Linked DNA regions of Homo sapiens: region 1 is linked to region 2. Evidence: promoter capture Hi-C in 16 types of primary human blood cells and fetal thymus (Javierre and others, 2016). All regions are on one chromosome and are shown on one strand. The core of a region is centred on a gene start or on the middle of the fragment in contact, and the rest is flanking DNA. Distances in the headings are between cores, read along the strand shown. Region 1 holds the start of KRTAP5-4 (keratin associated protein 5-4). Region 2 holds the start of TH (tyrosine hydroxylase).

Evidence for each region. The method cuts DNA at HindIII sites, captures the fragments that hold promoters and counts their contacts. A CHiCAGO score of 5 or more calls a contact.
Region 1: the fragment with the promoter of KRTAP5-4 here is called in contact with the fragment with the promoter of TH in region 2 in 4 of 17 cell types (M2 macrophages, M1 macrophages, M0 macrophages and 1 more); the score reaches 10.3 in M2 macrophages.

Annotation. Positions count from the first base shown.
Region 1 is chr11:1,620,819-1,623,518 of GRCh38, reverse strand. It overlaps KRTAP5-4 (keratin associated protein 5-4), which reads left to right and starts at 1,381. Exons shown (of 1, transcript NM_001347674.1): 1 at 1,381-2,561. The coding sequence starts at 1,426. The coding sequence ends at 2,112. The HindIII fragment of the contact is 2,450 bases long and covers 1,005-2,700 here.
Region 2 is chr11:2,170,410-2,173,109 of GRCh38, reverse strand. It overlaps TH (tyrosine hydroxylase), which reads left to right and starts at 1,295. Exons shown (of 13, transcript NM_000360.4): 1 at 1,295-1,413. The coding sequence starts at 1,324. MIR4686 (microRNA 4686) reads right to left here and starts at 47; the gene lies at 1-47. The HindIII fragment of the contact is 9,589 bases long and covers 1-2,700 here.

The DNA of each region.
Region 1 (2,700 bases), core at 132-2,631, 550 kb after region 2:
TCCTGCCTCAGCCTCCCAAGGAGCTGGGACTACAGGCGTCTGCCACCACGCCCGGCTAATTTTTTTTTGTATTTTTAGTAGAGACGGGGTTTCACCATGTTAGCCAGGATGGTCTCGATCTCCTGACCTCGTGATCCGCCCGCCTGGGCCTCCCAAAGTGCTGGGATGACAGGCGTGAGCCAGCGCGCCCGGCTGAAAGACATTCATTTTTATACCATCTAATAATGTTGGCGAGGCTAAAAATGACAATTAAGACAAAGTGAGAATGGCTTTTAAAAACGTCAGAAATTAAACTCAAGTACATGCCTGTGGAAAAACAAAGTACACTGTTTGAACACAAGGGATTTGTTCTCTCAATATCCAAATAACTTTTAAAGCAGTAATGAGAAGTCAAAAAGGTATAAATTTTTTTTTTTTTTTTTTGAGACGGAGTCTTGCTCTGTCGCCCAGGCTGGAGTGCAGTGGCATGATCTCGGCTCACTGCAAGCTCCACCTCCCAGGTTCACACCATTCTCCTGCCTCAGCCTCCTGAGTAGCTGGAACTACAGGCGCCCGCCACCACGCCCGGCTAACTTTTTGTACTTTTAGTAGAGACGGGGTTTCACCATGTTAGCCAGGATGTTCTCGATCTCCTGACCTCGTGATTCGCCCACCTTGGTCTCCCAAAGTGCTGGGATTATAGGTGTGAGCCACTGTGCCTGGCCAATAAAAAAGTATATAATTTATATTGGAGTAAAAGAATCACCCTCACTAATAGTTAATTGAAGAGATTAACAACAGGATGATAAATGAGATCCCCCATCCACCCATGAAATTCCTGAGATTTTTAACATAAACAATACTCACCACGTGAGGCTGTGTATGCAGCAGCCAGGAGTCCTGAGCACCCCACGACCTGAGGCTGGCGGAGGAGAGATTCACTGCAGTGCACCAATGTGTTAAGACAGAACCAAGATACAACGTTGGTTCCTCAATTAGCCTCTTTAATTATATGGATGAAAGCTTAGTTTTTAAAAAATTATCTTCACACAAAGTTCACAGTTTCAAAGAAAAATATAATGCCATAGGTGGGAAGAAAAGATGGGAAGAAAACAACCAAAATGATCTTTGTAGAAAACCCATCCTCTGCCCATCACATGAGGAAAACAGAAGGCAGGTGATCAGTTCAGTACAAGGTCCAGTTCCAAGGAGGAAGTGACTACATTTAGAAACATAAGCAGGTGGGTGTTGGATCAGGCCAATGAGAACCCGAAGTCCAGCAAACAAATAATCACATACCCAGGAAGTGCTGGGAATGATGGAGTGACCAAGGTCTCAGAGCAACCCTACCCAGGGATATAAGGGGGTCCAGGCTCAGGGGGCTCCACACCTGCACCTCCATCTCATCTGCTCCTCTACCTGCTCCACCCTCAATCCACCAGAACCATGGGCTGCTGTGGCTGCTCTGGAGGCTGTGGCTCCGGCTGTGGGGGCTGTGGCTCCGGCTGTGGGGGCTGTGGCTCTGGCTGTGGGGGCTGTGGCTCCGGCTGTGGGGGCTGTGGCTCCGGCTGTGGGGGCTGTGGCTCCAGCTGCTGTGTGCCCATCTGCTGCTGCAAACCTGTGTGCTGCTGTGTGCCAGCCTGTTCCTGCTCCAGCTGTGGCTCCTGTGGGGGCTCCAAGGGGGGCTATGGCTCTTGTGGGGGTTCCAAGGGGGGCTGTGTCTCCTGTGGGGGTTCCAAGGGGGGCTGTGGCTCCTGTGGGGGCTCCAAGGGGGGCTGTGGCTCCTGTGGGGGTTCCAAGGGGGGCTGTGGCTCCTGTGGGGGCTCCAAAGGAGGCTGTGGCTCTTGTGGCTGCTCCCAGTGCAGCTGCTGTAAGCCCTGCTGCTTCTCTTCAGGCTGTGGGTCATCCTGCTGCCAGTCCAGCTGCTGTAAGCCCTGCTGCTCCTCCTCAGGTTGTGGGTCATCCTGCTGCCAGTCCAGCTGCTGCAAGCCCTACTGCTGCCAGTCCAGCTGCTGTAAGCCCTGCTGCTCCTCCTCAGGTTGTGGGTCATCCTGCTGCCAGTCCAGTTGCTGCAATCCCTGCTGCTCCCAGTCTAGTTGCTGTGTCCCTGTGTGCTGCCAGTGTAAGATCTGAGGCTCTGGACTCAGGCCTCATGTGAGTCCTGCTAATCCTGTCTTCCAAAGCTGTGACCTGTCCTTCATTGTTGAGCCCCAAATCATTGCTCAGGGTCCATTCCCTGCTGTAGAACGATGCCATATCTGGCTGCCTTTTCCTAAGAAGAGTCCACCCTAATTAATGTCCATTGTCTCTCCTAACAAATTCTCTCCCCAAGTCAACTGCAATTGCAGCTGAATCACCCCTCACCCACTAGCCTCGCCTTTGCTCATCTTTTCAGAGGCCTGAGCTCCTGAACCCACTTGCAGTCCTGTCTTTTCCAGCTGGAGCAGCTGGGCATAAGCGTCCCACCTGCAACAAGGTGGGCGTTTAAGAGGCTTCCTTGGAGTGGCTTTGCATGTCCAACACTCTGCTGTATCTTTTTTTTTTTTTTTTTTTTTTTGAGATGGAGTCTCGCACTGTCACCCAGGCTGGAGTGCAGTGGCACCATCTCGGCTCACTGCAAGCTCCGCCTCCCGGGTTCACTCCATTCTCCTGCCTCAGCCTCCCCAGTAGCTGGGACTACAGGTGCCCGCCACCACGCCCGGCTAATTTTTTTTTTATTAT
Region 2 (2,700 bases), core at 46-2,545:
TCATCTTGGGCTGCCAACACCAGAAAGCCCAGCAGATACAGGAAGCCCCAAGCCCTGTCGGAAACGGTTCTTCTCCAGGAGGGACAGCGGTGGCAGCGTTCAGCCGCAGGCCATGCACTCTGGGGCCACGTCCTTCCCTCTGTACAGTCCAGCATTGTCAAGGCAGGCTCTGGCCATCTCTGCTGACCCCAGAGGGATGGGGAGGCCTCCCCTTCCACCAGAAGGGCCAGAAGCCACCCTGGGCAGGGGCATCACTCTCCCTGGGTGGGGCAGCGGCTGGGAGCAGGAGGTGCCAGTGGGCGTGGGCTGGATGCGGGTGCCTGCGGGGCGGACATGGAACTTGGGGGAGGCTCTAGGCTGGGGTTGTCCTCAAGGGAGTTCTCAGGTCACCCCAGGGTCACCCTCAACCCGGGGCCTGGTGGGGTAGAGGAGAAACTGCAAAGGTCTCTCCAAGGGGAAGGCATCAGGGCCCTCAGCACTGAGGGACGTGCGTGCTCTTTAAAGAAGGGGCCACAGGACCCCGAGGGAAGCCAGGAGCTAGCAGTGGGCCATAGAGGGGCTGAGTGGGGTGGGTGGAAGCCGTCCCTGGCCCTGGTCGCCCTGGCAACCCTGGTGGGGACTGTGATGCAGGAGGTGGCAGCCATTTGGAAACGCGTGGCGTCTCCTTAGAGATGTCTTCTTCAGCCTCCCAGGGTCCTCCACACTGGACAGGTGGGCCCTCCTGGGACATTCTGGACCCCACGGGGCGAGCTTGGGAAGCCGCTGCAAGGGCCACACCTGCAGGGCCCGGGGGCTGTGGGCAGATGGCACTCCTAGGAACCACGTCTATGAGACACACGGCCTGGAATCTTCTGGAGAAGCAAACAAATTGCCTCCTGACATCTGAGGCTGGAGGCTGGATTCCCCGTCTTGGGGCTTTCTGGGTCGGTCTGCCACGAGGTTCTGGTGTTCATTAAAAGTGTGCCCCTGGGCTGCCAGAAAGCCCCTCCCTGTGTGCTCTCTTGAGGGCTGTGGGGCCAAGGGGACCCTGGCTGTCTCAGCCCCCCGCAGAGCACGAGCCCCTGGTCCCCGCAAGCCCGCGGGCTGAGGATGATTCAGACAGGGCTGGGGAGTGAAGGCAATTAGATTCCACGGACGAGCCCTTTCTCCTGCGCCTCCCTCCTTCCTCACCCACCCCCGCCTCCATCAGGCACAGCAGGCAGGGGTGGGGGATGTAAGGAGGGGAAGGTGGGGGACCCAGAGGGGGCTTTGACGTCAGCTCAGCTTATAAGAGGCTGCTGGGCCAGGGCTGTGGAGACGGAGCCCGGACCTCCACACTGAGCCATGCCCACCCCCGACGCCACCACGCCACAGGCCAAGGGCTTCCGCAGGGCCGTGTCTGAGCTGGACGCCAAGCAGGCAGAGGCCATCATGGTAAGAGGGCAGGTAGGTGCCCGGCGGCCGCAGTGGACCGGAGCCCAGGGCTGGTGCCAGCTGCCTCTGCTACTCCCCAGCCTGGCTGGCAGCCCCAGGCTCAGGGTCCATGCAAACCCCTGGGACGCGGCGTGGATGTGGAGGCCTGGGCACAGCGGCATCCCCTGTGCCTGGTGTTTGAGTCCCTGTTGGGGGAGGGTGAGGTGATGCCTGTCCCTGTGTGTGCCCCTCTTAGGCCGACCTCTCTCGGGGGTCGTGTGGGTCTCTGTGTCTTGTTTCATCTTGAATCTTAACGATCGGAATGTGGAAACAAATCCATCCAAAAAATCCAAGATGGCCAGAGGTCCCCGGCTGCTGCACCCAGCCCCCACCCTACTCCCACCTGCCCCTGCCTCCCTCTGCCCCAGCTGCCCTAGTCAGCACCCCAACCAGCCTGCCTGCTTGGGGAGGCAGCCCCAAGGCCCTTCCCAGGCTCTAGCAGCAGCTCATGGTGGGGGGTCCTGGGCAAATAGGGGGCAAAATTCAAAGGGTATCTGGGCTCTGGGGTGATTCCCATTGGCCTGTTCCTCCCTTATTTCCCTCATTCATTCATTCATTCATTCATTCATTCACCATGGAGTCTGTGTTCCCTGTGACCTGCACTCGGAAGCCCTGTGTACAGGGGACTGTGTGGGCCAGGCTGGATAATCGGGAGCTTTTCAGCCCACAGGAGGGGTCTTCGGTGCCTCCTTGGGCACTCAGAACCTTGGGCTCCCTGGCACATTTAAAATGGGTTTTTATTTATGGACCTTGATTGAAATGTGGTGTGAGTTGTAGCAGTGTCATTTCCAGGTACCTTCTCAGGGACACAGGGCGCCCTCCCCCGTCCTCCCCCGCCCTCCCCTACCCTCCCCCACCAGGCTCCCCATCAGGCATCCCCTCCCCAGGGCGCCCCGGGGCCCAGCCTCACAGGCTCTCCGTGGCCTGGAACTGCAGCCCCAGCTGCATCCTACACCCCCACCCCAAGGGTAAGTAAGAGGGGACTCTGGGAGGGGCTTCTGCTGCTCCCCTTCATGTTCCACAACCCTGGAAGCTCAGGATGAAGCTGATTCTTCTCTTACAAGGGGCCCAGAGCCTTCTTGGGAGTTCAGCTCCAAGGGATGAGCCCCAGGTGTCTGCCAAGTCCCCCTCTGTCCAGGCCTGGGACGGCTCTGGGATCGAGGGGTCAGAGGCGCTGAGCCCAGGGAGAGACACCTGCGCCCAGAGCTATGACAAAGGGTGGAGGGATGACAAGGCAGCCAGGAGCGG